Regions from separate parts of the Homo sapiens genome. Here region 2 is linked to region 1. Evidence: promoter capture Hi-C in human tissues and cell types (Jung and others, 2019). All regions are on one chromosome and are shown on one strand. The core of a region is centred on a gene start or on the middle of the fragment in contact, and the rest is flanking DNA. Distances in the headings are between cores, read along the strand shown. Region 1 holds the start of HPS6 (HPS6 biogenesis of lysosomal organelles complex 2 subunit 3). Region 2 holds the start of BTRC (beta-transducin repeat containing E3 ubiquitin protein ligase).

What was found. Contacts are between HindIII fragments. The study calls those that stand out against the background at their distance.
Region 2: a contact is called between the fragment with the promoter of BTRC here and the fragment with the promoter of HPS6 in region 1, in 1 of the 25 tissues and cell types used here (heart left ventricle).

Annotation. Positions count from the first base shown.
Region 1 is chr10:102,061,723-102,067,822 of GRCh38, reverse strand. HPS6 (HPS6 biogenesis of lysosomal organelles complex 2 subunit 3) reads right to left here and starts at 2,474. Exons shown (of 1, transcript NM_024747.6): 1 at 1-2,474. The coding sequence starts at 2,348. The coding sequence ends at 21. RefSeq lists a silencer at 2,053-2,722 and an enhancer at 2,933-2,982. The HindIII fragment of the contact is 30,919 bases long and covers 1-6,100 here.
Region 2 is chr10:101,350,651-101,356,750 of GRCh38, reverse strand. It overlaps BTRC (beta-transducin repeat containing E3 ubiquitin protein ligase), which reads right to left and starts at 2,586. Exons shown (of 15, transcript NM_033637.4): 1 at 2,523-2,586. The coding sequence starts at 2,570. RefSeq lists a silencer at 2,363-2,542 and an enhancer at 4,811-6,010. The HindIII fragment of the contact is 8,909 bases long and covers 78-6,100 here.

The sequences.
Region 1 (6,100 bases), core at 1,225-3,724:
TTCTGATGCCTGAAGGGTAGTCATAGGTCCCGAGGTGGAGTCGGGGGTGGAGTGCTGGGGTCCCATAGGATGTCCTCATATGGGCTTAGAACTGGGCCCGACAGCCATCCTTGAGCCCCAGTCTGCTCCAGCAGGGCTTTGAGCAAGCCCACAGTGAGAGGGGGCTCTGCTCCAGGCTCAGGGAATGGGGTTGGGGGCCCCACCTCATCTGGGAGGTATGTCCTCAGTAGAAGCAGGAGCTCAGCTGGAGCCAGTTCTGGTGGGCACAGGCGGCAAAGGAGGGGGAGGTGAGCATCAAGCCGGCGGTGCTGGGCAAACTCGGCCAGCAGCAGTTTGAAGATTTCACTTCGAAGCAGGGGACTGGAGGGGCCGAGGGCCAGGCCAGCATCCAGAGCCCGATCCCATTGTTCCTTTTGCACCAGCTGCCCGACAGCTTGGAGCACAGCTTTAGGCCGCCCACTGCTCAAGAGCAGCTCTAGCTCCAGAGCCTCAGGCCTGGTCCCCTCCTCACCTAGCACTGCCAGAGCTCGGCGATACAGGGGCAGTCCTGGGCCCCCTGCCCCCCAGCCCGGCCCGCCCTGCTGCTGTGCCAGCTCCACAAAGGGTGGCAGCCATCGAGGCTCCAGCTGGCACAGACACTGGCACAGGAGTTCAAAGGGGGGCAGTATTCCATTGGGGGGTTCCTTTCCAGCGGTTATTCCCCCTAACACTTTCTTCCACACATCAGGGGGTGCTTGGGACCTCAGCTTGCCATTCCCATCTAGCTGGAGCTGCAGGGCCCTGAGGGTGGCACCCCAGGCTGCTGTAGGAAGGGCTTGGAAAACGGTGTTGAGCTGGGCTAGCTGGTCTCCTATCAACTCAGTCCTCAGCAGGCGTGCCACTTCCTGCTCCGCCAGCTCAGTCCAACCAGCCTCCTCATCATCCCCAGCCACCAGCTGGGCCTTCAGCTGTTCTAAGCCTCGGTAATCCCGAAGCTCGGTCCTCAACATGGTCAGCAGTGCAGATGGGGGCAGGTGGCCCTGGAGGATGGAGGCCAGAGCCTGAGGTGCCCGGAATGTGCTGCTGTGTCTCAGTTCTTCTGGAGTGAGCTGGGCACCCCGCAGGCTCCGCCGCTGGTAGTACCCGCAGGCCTCCTCAAACACCAGATCCTTGGCTGAAGGCAACTCAACACCCTGTGGGGCTTCCCAGCCCACACAAAACAGACCCAAGGCTGAAAGCAGACGAAGATTCCCTCGGGTCTCCAGCTCTTCCTCATCCTCCATGCCGGGGGCTGGCGGTTCTAGCAGATGTACCCTGTCTGTACTTAGGACCTTCCTCTCCAGCAGCTGCCCACTGCCCATGTCCAGCAGTTCCAATGTGGAGCCCAGCACACAGGCCAGAGTGCCCTGAAATGTGCCTAGGGCTGCAGACCCCCACGGGCCTACAGGTGCCTCCTGCAGGGTGCCCACAGCCCGCGTACCACCGTGGGACTGCAATAGGCTCACAGTGCCCCCGAAGTCAAGCAACAGCAGGCCCTGGGGAGTTGGGGCCCAGGTGTGTACAGCCAGTGGCTCCCTGGGGGACAGCAACCCAGGAAGGCCTCGGAGCAGGGTCCGGAAGTCCCATGTGTCCCCTCGTCCAGGATTCAGACTCTTACTGTAGGAGAGACCAAGCCGTGGGGCAGCCACCATCACTTTGCCCTTGCCTGGGCTCCAGATGAGTAGAACGTGGGCCACGCCAGGCCAGGTGGTGGCAGTGGGCACCAGGAAGAGTTGTCTGCAGGAGGCCAGCAGCCCGAAGGCAGGGCAGTGGTGCAGCAGGACGTGTGTGCGGCCCAGGCTGGTGCTAGCTTCCCCGCTGGGCTCCAGAGTCCGGACGCACACACAGTGGCTGAAAGCGGCTGCTGGCGACCCTGACGGGCCCTCGGCCCGGGCCTGCCGCTCCTCGCACCACACCAGGCGGCCTCGGAGCGCCGCCACTGCCACAACGCGGGCTCCCCCGCCCGGACACAGCTCGGTGCTCTGCAGCGGCCGCCAGCCAGGCCCCACGCCCGCGCCCCACACCTCGGCCAGGCCACTCTCCCACACCAGCACCAGCGCCGGCCGCGCTGGCCACGGCAGGAAGAAGGCGTCCAGCGGGGAGGGCTGGCCGGCCGGCCAGGCCCGCTCTAGCTCCGCGCCGGGCCCTCGCGACGCGACTAGCAGCTGTGGGGCTACCGCCCCAGGGGGTCGCAGGAGCAGCAAGTGGCGGCCGTCCGGACTGCCACGGACTCGGACCGCTGAGTCCCCGGCCACCAGCTCCCGGAGCCGCGCCGCGCCGCCGAAGGCGCTCAGGTCCGAGAGCAGCCGCAGAGTCCCCGAGCGCTTCATGGCGCCGCTGCGCGGGAGCGCGCCCAGGCTTTGCCCAGGTCCAGCCGCCCAGCAGGGCGAGGCCCGATTCTCGGGGGAGCGGAGCAGGGCCAAGACTTCCGTCTCCCGTGGATGAGGTGAGCAGAGGCCGGGCCGAGCGTCGACTCCGCCCCGCCCGGCCGGCTCCGGGATGCCTCCCGCAGTCGCTGGGCCGACACTACACGCCCGCCGGGGGAGGAGCCACGGGAGCGCCCCAGGGGCTCAGCGCCTGGACCGCGCCCGCCCGGGCACGCTCTCGGCGCAGGGGGAGGCCCTTCCCCAGACCCCAGGACGCCGCCCAGTGGCCCGGAGTCCCACGCAGGAATAGGGATTCCAGCCCCCTGAGCCCCTCTCCCAAGAATTTCACCCCAATTTACTCATTCAGGAAATTTTCGTTGAGCACATGCTTTGTGCCAGGCTCTGAGTAGACAGCCCTAAACAAAATAGAAAACCTCAACCTCATGGAGATGACAATCTAGTGGAAATAGTAAACATGGCTGGGCGCGGTGGCTCACGCCTATAATCTTAGCACTTTGGGAGGCTGAGGTGGGAGGATTGCTTGAGGCCAGGCGTTCGAGACCAGCCTGAGCAACATAGGCAGACCTTGTCTCTATAAAAATTTTAAAAAGACAGAAAGAAAGAAAGAGAGAGAGAGAGAAGGAAGGAAGGAAAGAAAACCACTTCCATATCACTATGTGACAGCCTTCTCTATCCCCTAGTCCCTTTTACAGATAAGGAGGATGAAGCACAGAGAGATTACGTAACTTAACTAAGATCAAGCAGGTATTAAGTGGTGGAGGTGGGATTTCAACCACAGGCACTCTGGCTCCAGAGTCAGTGCAACAAATCACTTTATCATATCAACAACTCATCACCCAAACCAAAACAGAGAAACATAATTTAGAAGCACTGAGCCTGTGTACCGACTCTTCAGTAACACCTACAAATTTGTATGCAGGGGTCCTTCCACCCCTTGACTGCCTTTTCAGGTGAGCAGTTTTCCTCCTCTCTCCAAGGCCAATCCCTCTTTATGAGCCCTGCCTCTCCTCCCCGGCCCCTACCTTCCTTGAGAACTTGCATCCATTTCTGTTTCACTGCCCTCATTCCGTCCTCAGCATAGAAATACCCTGTCATCTCTCCTGTCTTGGAATTCGTTCTTTCATCCTCATCTCCCCACTTCCACCTCCATCACTCCCTCCCCTTTTCCTTTCTCAGTCAATTTTCTTGCAAGGATGCTACATTTGCCACCTCCACTTTCTTTCCTTCTATCCTCAACCCACTACTTCCCTGAAGTAGCTTTTGCTGAGGTCTTCAAGGACATTTTTATTTGACAGCCTTCTCATTGAAAGTCCCTCCTGTGGTTTGCACTGCATCTTTCCTGGCTGGTTTTCCTTTCCTTTTATTTTATTTTATTTTTTTATTTTTATTTTTAGATAGCACTGCCTTCAGAGTTTTATTTGCCTTTGGTTCATCTTCCTCCATCCTTTATTGATTGATTGATTGAGATAGAGTCTCACTCTGTCGCCCACGTTTGAGTGAAGTGGCACCATCTTGGCTCAGTGCAACCTCTGCCTCCTGGGTTCAAGCGATTCTCCTGCCCAGCCTCCCGAGTAGCTGGGATTAGAGGCACCCACCACCACGCCCACCTAATTTTTGTATTTTCAGTAGAGACAGGGTTTCACCTTGCTGGCCGGGATGGTCTTGATCTCTTGACCTCGTGATCCACATGCCTTGGCCTCCCAAAGTGCTGGGATTACAGGCATGAGCCACCGTGCCTGGCCTATTTATTTATTTATTGAGACAGAGTCTTGCTCCGTTGCCCAGGTTGAAGTGCAGTGGCGCAATCTCGGCTCACTGCTATCTCCATGTCCCAGGTTCAAGCGATTCTCCTGCCTAAGCCTCCCTCCCTAGTAGCTGGGATTTCAGAAGTGCACCACCATGCCCAGCTACTTTTTATATTTTTAGTAGAGGTCGGGTTTTGCTATGTTGGTTGGCCAGGCTGGTCTCGAACTCCAGGCCTCAAGTGATCTGCCCGCCTTAGCCTCTCAAAATGTTAGAATTACAGGTGTGAGCCACTGTACCCGGCCCCTCCATCATCCTTTAAATGTGCTCTTCCTCCTATATCCTGATTCCACTTTGAGCCCCTTTATTTTTTTCTTTTGCCTACAGCTCAGACGTCTCTGCTAAGCTCCACACAAAAAAAGAGCATCCAAATGTCTACTAAATATTTATTTCTGCCTAAGATGTCTCATCTCACAGACATTTCATTCTCAACATGTCCTAAACATCATCTTCCTGCCCCAAACTGCTCCTCCTTCAGTTGCTCTTAGTTGACATAGATTTCTTTTGTTTTTGTATCCTATCCTCATATTTAGAGTAGAGCCTGACACAAAGTCTCCACAGATGTTTGGTGAAGGAATCATTACGTTTTCATGGGCACATGTTTGTGTGTGTGATATCACTTAGAAAACTTTTCCTTAAAAATTACAGAAGTAGGCCAGGCACGGTGGTTCACGCATGCAGTTCCAGCTACTCAGGAGGCTGAGGCAAGAGGATTACTTGAGGCCAGGAGTTGGAGTCTGTGGTGTGCAATGATTGTGCCTGTGAATAGCCACTGCACTACAGCCTGGGCAACATGGCAAGCATCCTGTCTCTTTAAAAAAAAAAATTACAGAAACAGACCATGGCTGTCTTAAGCAAAAATGAAGTTATTTAGAAGAACATAGGGGACTCACAGAATCTTCAGGAGAAAGGAAGAACAGGTGTGGCAAATGGTCATGAACCAAGACACCCACACCCACCAAATACTAAGAAGTAGGAAGCACGACTTTTTTTTTTTTTTTTTTAGACAGAGTCTTGCTGTCTCCCCAGGCTGGAGTGCAGTGGCACAATCTTGGCTCACTGCAACCTCTGCCTCCTGGGATCAAGCAATTCTTCCACCTCAGCCTCCCGAGTAGCTGGTATCACAGGTGCACACCACCATGCCCTGCTAATTTTTGTATTTTTTGTAGAGACGGGGTTTTGCCATGTTGGCCAGGCTGGTCTTGAAGGTCCTGGCCTCAGGTGATCCACCTGCCTCGGCCTCCCAAAGTGCTGGGATTACAGGTATGAGCCACTGTGCCTGGCCACAACTGTTTTTTTAGCCGGAACAATTTGTTAAAGATACCATGATCTCTGGTGCTATACAAGCTGATCACTGCACTGGAAGACAGCACCTGTTATGAATAAATTCTGATCATACCTTCTATTGGGGTTCACCTCATTACACCTTTCTCTTACACCTGCCTACTTTTTTATATTCTATTAGGGTACAACTTTGATTTTTTTAAAAAACTGCAAATTGGCTGGGTGCGGTAGCTCACACCTGTAGTCCCAGCACTTTGGGGGGCTGAGGCAGGCGGATCACCTGAGTTCGGGAGTTCTAGACCAGCCTGACTAACATGGAGAAACCCTGTCTCCACTAAAAGTACAAAATTAGCCCAGCGTGGTGGTGCATGCCCGTAATCCTAGCTACTCAGGAGGCTGAGGCAGGAGAATCGCTTGAACCCAGGAGGCGGAGGTTGCCGTGAGCCGAAGTCACGCCATTGCACTCCAGCCTGGACAACAAGAGCGAAATTGTGTCTCAGAAAAAAAAAAAAACAAACCAAAAAAACCCCTGCTAATCATGTCTTTCTTTTTCTTTTTTTTTTTTTTTTTTGAGACGGAGTCTTGCTCTGTCACCCAGGCTAGAGTGC
Region 2 (6,100 bases), core at 1,337-3,836, 710 kb after region 1:
GTTACTGCACTGAAAGAGAATACCCAATCTCAAACTCTCCATTCTCTGTTTCTTTTATTAAGGTGTCATTCTGGTGACCCTCTTCTAGTTGACCTTTTCTCAAATGGCAGCCAAAACAGCAGGCAAGGTCAATAATGAAAGTAACTAAAATTAAAAGAAAAAATTGGCTTCTCCCTATGAAAACTGATTCAAGATTTAATAATGTGTGGTGCTCTAAAAGCTGCAACTACTATATGGTCATCTCCAAGTCCACTTTAACTCAACCAGGGAGGCCATTATCAAAACATAACTCACTGGTACAAAGCAGAGATTAAGTAGCTGAGAATGTTACTAGGCTGAAGTCTAACTGAGAGTAAAAAGGATGATCTCATAATGTCTCTTTATGATCTGTAAATCACATTATTCCATAAATCTGACACAAATGTCAGGATTAGGATTAAGAGTCAACCCTCTGCTGGGCGCTGTGGCTCACACCTGAAATCCCAGCACTTTGGGAGGCCAAGGTGGGCGGATCACGAGGTCAGGAGATGAGACCATCCTGGCCAACATAGTGAAACCCCGACTCTACTAAAAATAAAAAATTAGATGGGCGTGGTGGCCCACACCTGTAGTTCTAGCTACTCGGGAGGCTGAGGCAGGAGAATCGCTTGAACCCAGGAGGCGGAGGCTGCACCACTGCACTCCAGCCTGGGCGACAAAGCAAGACTCCATCTCAAAAGAAGAAAAAAAGGAGTCAACCCTCTAAGTAGGAAAACAAAAATAAGCAGTAACAGTTTTCTAACTTAAGTGTAGTAACTTTCACTTACTTCTAAAGTCCAGTAAAAGTTCAAGGTCTCTTCTTCATATTTAGAATTTTAATGTTGGGCAGAAATCCAAGAACCTTCTTCAGGCTCAATGAAATTTTGTTAATGATACCCCTGAATTTTAATTAGGTGTTTTCGAAAACACTAATGCAAGATAAAGTTTTAGTGAATTTGACTAGATTCCAAAAAAGTATTCTTATAAATGGGGCAGTTTAAAGTCTAAAATTCAATTTTGTTAGTATCCATGTTTATCTGGATTTGTTACGGTATTTTAGGCAAAGATACAAAATAGCTATTTTTTTAAGCAAAGGAGTAAGATTTGGAGTGACAAGTCACAATAACTTCTGAAAAAGCAAGACTGGACTGCAAATAATATCAATGTCCCTAAGGCCACCTGTTAAGCTTAAAATCTATGCATTCCATCATTCTTTAGTTGTAACCACAAAGTCTGGTTTTACACCTAGGAAATACAAAAAGCATCAGATTAAAAGCATCAAATATCAGACTATACGAGTTTGCCAAAGATAAGCACAGCAAAAAGAAAAGCGTGATACAAAGTTAAAGAAATATGTTCCAAGGGGTTTAAGCACACCCACAAAATCCAATCTTTGCTCACACTGTGCTTCAACCTAAAACTGACGGGTAACCACAAATCCTGACTTATCCCTGACTTACTTCCCTCTACCAACCTCCACCCTTTTTATCTCCTAAATTTCTCAACTGATCTCATCACTTCTTATGGGTCTTTGCAACTCTCATCTCCACGGCCTTTCCTTTCCCAGAAAATGATACAAAGCACCTGGCCTCCACATTTTACCGTCCCACAATTTACCTTTAAATTTTGTTTTGCTTACCCTATTAGATACTCATTTTGCCCCAATCTCCTGTACCCATGTTTCCCTGACAATCTGCTCTTACTTTTCATCACCTTGTCCTTATTACAGTATTTAGCTTCTCCTTTCAAAGTAGCGTTATGTACCCCTCCCTGACATTTGTAATTCTAGCTTACAGTCAACACCCTTTTCCCCTCCCAGGGACTGTCATTATAGCCCTAGGTCCTCATTCCCAGTCCTTATCTTCTTTAGTGAGGCCTCTTCCCTTCCAGAGTTTGTCAACAGTAGTTTGGCCAAGCTGGGATTCCACCCTCAAGGCAAAGGCTATCCTCCCTCCTCATTCTACAAAACTATAAGCCTCTCACCAGCCCTAGCGTTCCCTCCTCCACCCTTAAATCCATCTGCATCCAGCCCTGCCCGTTCCCCTCTACCCACCGTATCTGTCTTCACTCTATCCCGCGCTCCCTTCCCCAGTCGTGAATGCACCTCCTCTCCCGGGCCTTACCGGTAACCCTGACACCAGGAAGGCCCCGCCAGCGGCCTCACGGCGTTTCTCCAGAGAGCTTCCTCCGCTTTTCAGTAACAGTCCCCACGCCCCTTTCCCTCCAGGGCCCCGCGCGCCGCCTGGAGCCCCCTCCTCGATTAAGCTCCCGCTGTCACTTGGCCTCTCATCCACAAGATGGCGGAGCCGCTGCCCCCACCCCTGGGTCCGCTCCGCAACCCCCAGCCTCCTTTCTGGAGCTCCCATCCCATCCCTCCAGCCGCTCCGCCGCCAGCCTCGGCCCAGGGTCCCGCTGCCCGGTCCCGCAGTGGGCGGGCGGCCCAGGCCAGCGACGCCGCCAACGCCAGCGCCTCCACCGTTCCCCGGCCTCCACCGTCTCCTCACCATAAACTTGAGTGCCTTCTCTTGCAGCACCGCCTCGGCCGGGTCCATAATCGCCGAGGCCACTGGGTCCGCTCTCCGCCGGGGCCGCCCCTTTGGTGCCAGGCCGCAGCCAACGCAGCGCCCGGATCCCGCCTCCTCTTCCTTCCCCCCGCCCTCTCTTACCTCTCAGGCGCAGGCTGAGGGGCCAAGGAGAATCGGCTTCTCCGTGCGCAGGCGAAAGCCCACTGGCTCACGGGATTTGTAGTTCTGGAACTTCCCCCAGGAAAAAAACTGAGGCTACGCCGTGAACCGCAACTCCCACAGTTCACTGCGGCAGCGTTGCGGTTGCCCACAAGCCAGATTTAGATAAGTTGCCATTACGCAGAGGAAATCGGCTGATGGGAATTGTAGTTTACAGCCTCTAAGGATGAGAAACGGGAGGGGCACGGGTGTCTCCGTGGTTACCGAGCGACGCCAGTAGCGGCTTGCCTGGCATTTGATATCAAGATGGCGGCCAATGCCTCACTTGTAGCCCAAATACTAAGAAAAACTGTGGCAAGAATCACGGGTCCTAGGACCTGCCTAACTGTGGTTTTAGGAAGCTGAACGTCCCCAAATTTCATGTATCTGGCATCTGCAGGTTTGCGACCCAGAGTAGCTGGGCCAATGGGCACCTGGCAGCAGCTCACAGACAAATGCGGAATTTCAAGGTCCTCCTAAGCCATCGCCACCCACACTTCTCCCGAGGAATCTTTTCTCCCCCACAGCAAGTCAGGGCCGAATAGAACTCGGTTCAAGAAATTCTCAGTGTTTAGAGCTCAAAAAGCACATAACTTGCTATTGCTAACTGTGGGATGTAAGCCCTGCACTAAGGGTCAAACAGGTACTTAACAAAAGTCCTTCAACGGTGGAATATAATGGCCTCCAGCAAATAAAGCATATAAATATTTTCTTTGGCCTGAAAAGGTACAATATGGGTTTATTTTGGAAATTGGGTCTACCTTAGGAGGAGAAAACTCTAGGGTTTGGTTAAAAGTGATTTAGGTTGTTTTAAGCTGCTATGTTTGTGATAATTGGTTATACAGCCTAAAAAACTGACACACACCCAAATGCCCCTCAGCAGGTGGTTGTATGAACAAATTGTAGCATATTCCATATGTAGCACAGTGGAATATTACTTAGCAATGAAAAAGAACAGTATAACAACAACAACAACAACAAAAGTGATTTAGGGCCAGGCGCGGTGACTGACGCTTGTAATCCCAGCACTGTGGGAGGCTAAGGCGGGTGGATCACCTGAGGTCAGGAGTTCGAGACGAGCCTGGCCAACATGGAGAAACCCCCGTCTCTACTAAAAATACAAAAATTAGTCGGGCCTGGTGGCACGCGCCTGTAATTCAAGCTACTCGGCAGGCTGAGGCATGAGAATTGCTTGAACCCGGGAGGCGGAAGTTGCAGTGAGCCGAGATCACGCTACTGCACTCCAGGCTGGGCAACAGAACGAGACTCTGTCTAAAAAAAAAAAAAAAAAAAAGTGAGTTAGATTGTGACAGCCTTGTACAAAATATCTGAATTTATAAAATAAATGAACTAGGAAAATACTTTTTGACTTATAGGAAAAAATCTCCATTTTAAACTATCTTATTCACTCAGTCATCCAACAAATGGTAAGCATATAACCGTGTGCAGACATCATCTCAAGAAATAGGGATTCATCACTACTTGGGTGGCTAAAATATCAGACTTCACCACTATAATTCATCTATATAACCAAAAACCACTTGTACCCCAAAAACTATTGAAATAAAAATAAAAGTAATTAATTAAACAAAAAGAAAAAGGAATGGGGATTCATTAATGAACAAGACAGACCCAGTTATTTCCTCGTGGAGCTTACACTTTTACTCTGTTGATACTTTGTCCTAGCCCCTATATCCACAAAACTCAGCATGATACTTAATACATAATAGGCTTTCAGTTAATAAAAAGTTTTGTTCTTGAATTTTTAAAAAAATTCTACACAAGTGCAAAATGGAGAAGACTTCAAACGCATTCGTATGAAAACTAGCTGGAGGTTTTCAGAGGACTAAGGCAGTAACAGGATGGAGTTACAAAAAAAATAAATAAATAAATAAATGAAAAGATAAGGTGGGATGATGGTGCAGCCACTGGAAAAGAGTATTCCAGGCAAAGGTAACTGCATTTTTGGTGATTGATTCTGAGAACCAAAACAAGATCAGTGGGACTTTAGAGGAAGAGTGGCCCTAGATGAGACTGCAGAAGAGTATGGGGCTCTATAGGCAAGCCATTATTTAGCCGGCATAAACTGGTCAGATAAATCAGCTGACATGCTTTCTAAACTGGCATCAGGGCCTGTACCTTACCAGATATAAAATACCTTGACTTTCACTCCAGCTTATAGGCCAAGTTCAGTCATTTAGACTGTATCCTGAGAGCTGTGAGAAACTAGCTGAACAATTTAAAAAATGGTCAGATTTGCATTTTCAGAAAATCACTCAGAGTCCAGGGTGGAGGAGAGATTAAAATGGAGCACAGCTGGAAGCTTGGGGAAAGGATTATGAGGTTGCTGAAATATTCCTGGGAGAGATGATGGCAGCCTGAATGTGGTGGTGAGAACAGAAAGAAGTAGATGGATTCCAGAGATACTAAGAAGATAGAATCAGTGGAGTATGGTGATTGATTAGATGTGTCATGGATGATGTCAAAAGGATGTGTCAAAGATGACTTCTATGTATCTGGCTCAGGTAATGAATGAGGGATGCCATATATATGTATTTTTTTCTTTTTTTTGACAGAAAGCACAGTAGAAGTGGTAGGAGGATAATCAGTTCTCTTTTTGGACATATTGCTTCAAGGTGCCTGTGAGATTTCTAAGTGGATTCAGATGTTGAGGAGGCCATTGGAGATTTGAAACTGAAGTTGGAGGGAAAGACCTGGGCTACAAATAGGGATTCCAGCATGTAGGTGGTAAATGAAACTCCACTCCCGCTTCTTCCCCCGAAAAGAATGAAATCATCCAGGGAGCTGGGCATGGTGACTCACACTGGAAATCCCAGCACTTTGGGAGGCTGAGGCAGGTGGATTACCTGAGGTCAGGAGTTCGAGACCAGCCTAGCCAACATGGTGAAACCCCATCTCTATGAAAAATACAAAATTAGCTGGGTGGGGTGGTGCTCACCTGTAGTCCTAGTTACTCAGGAGGCTGATGCAGGAGAATCGCTTGAACCCAGAAGGTGGAGGTTGCAGTGAGCCGAGATCACACCACTGCACTCCAGCCTGGGTGGCAGAGCAAGACTCTGTCTCAAAAAAATAAATAAATAAAATAAAGAAAGAAAAGAAATCACCCAGGGAAAGCATAAACAGTGGAAAGAGCAACAGGACTAGGACAGGGTCCTAAAGAACTGTAAGATTTATAGGACGAGCACAGGAAGAGGAGCCTACAAAGTAGCCCAAGAAGTGACCAGAGAGGTAGCAGGAAAGTCTGGTGAGTGAGGATCATGAAGGGGTTAGGGGGTGCAGATGCCACACTGCAGCCTGTTGAAGAGGGAGGTGAGGATATGAAGACTGCTGAGTCTCTT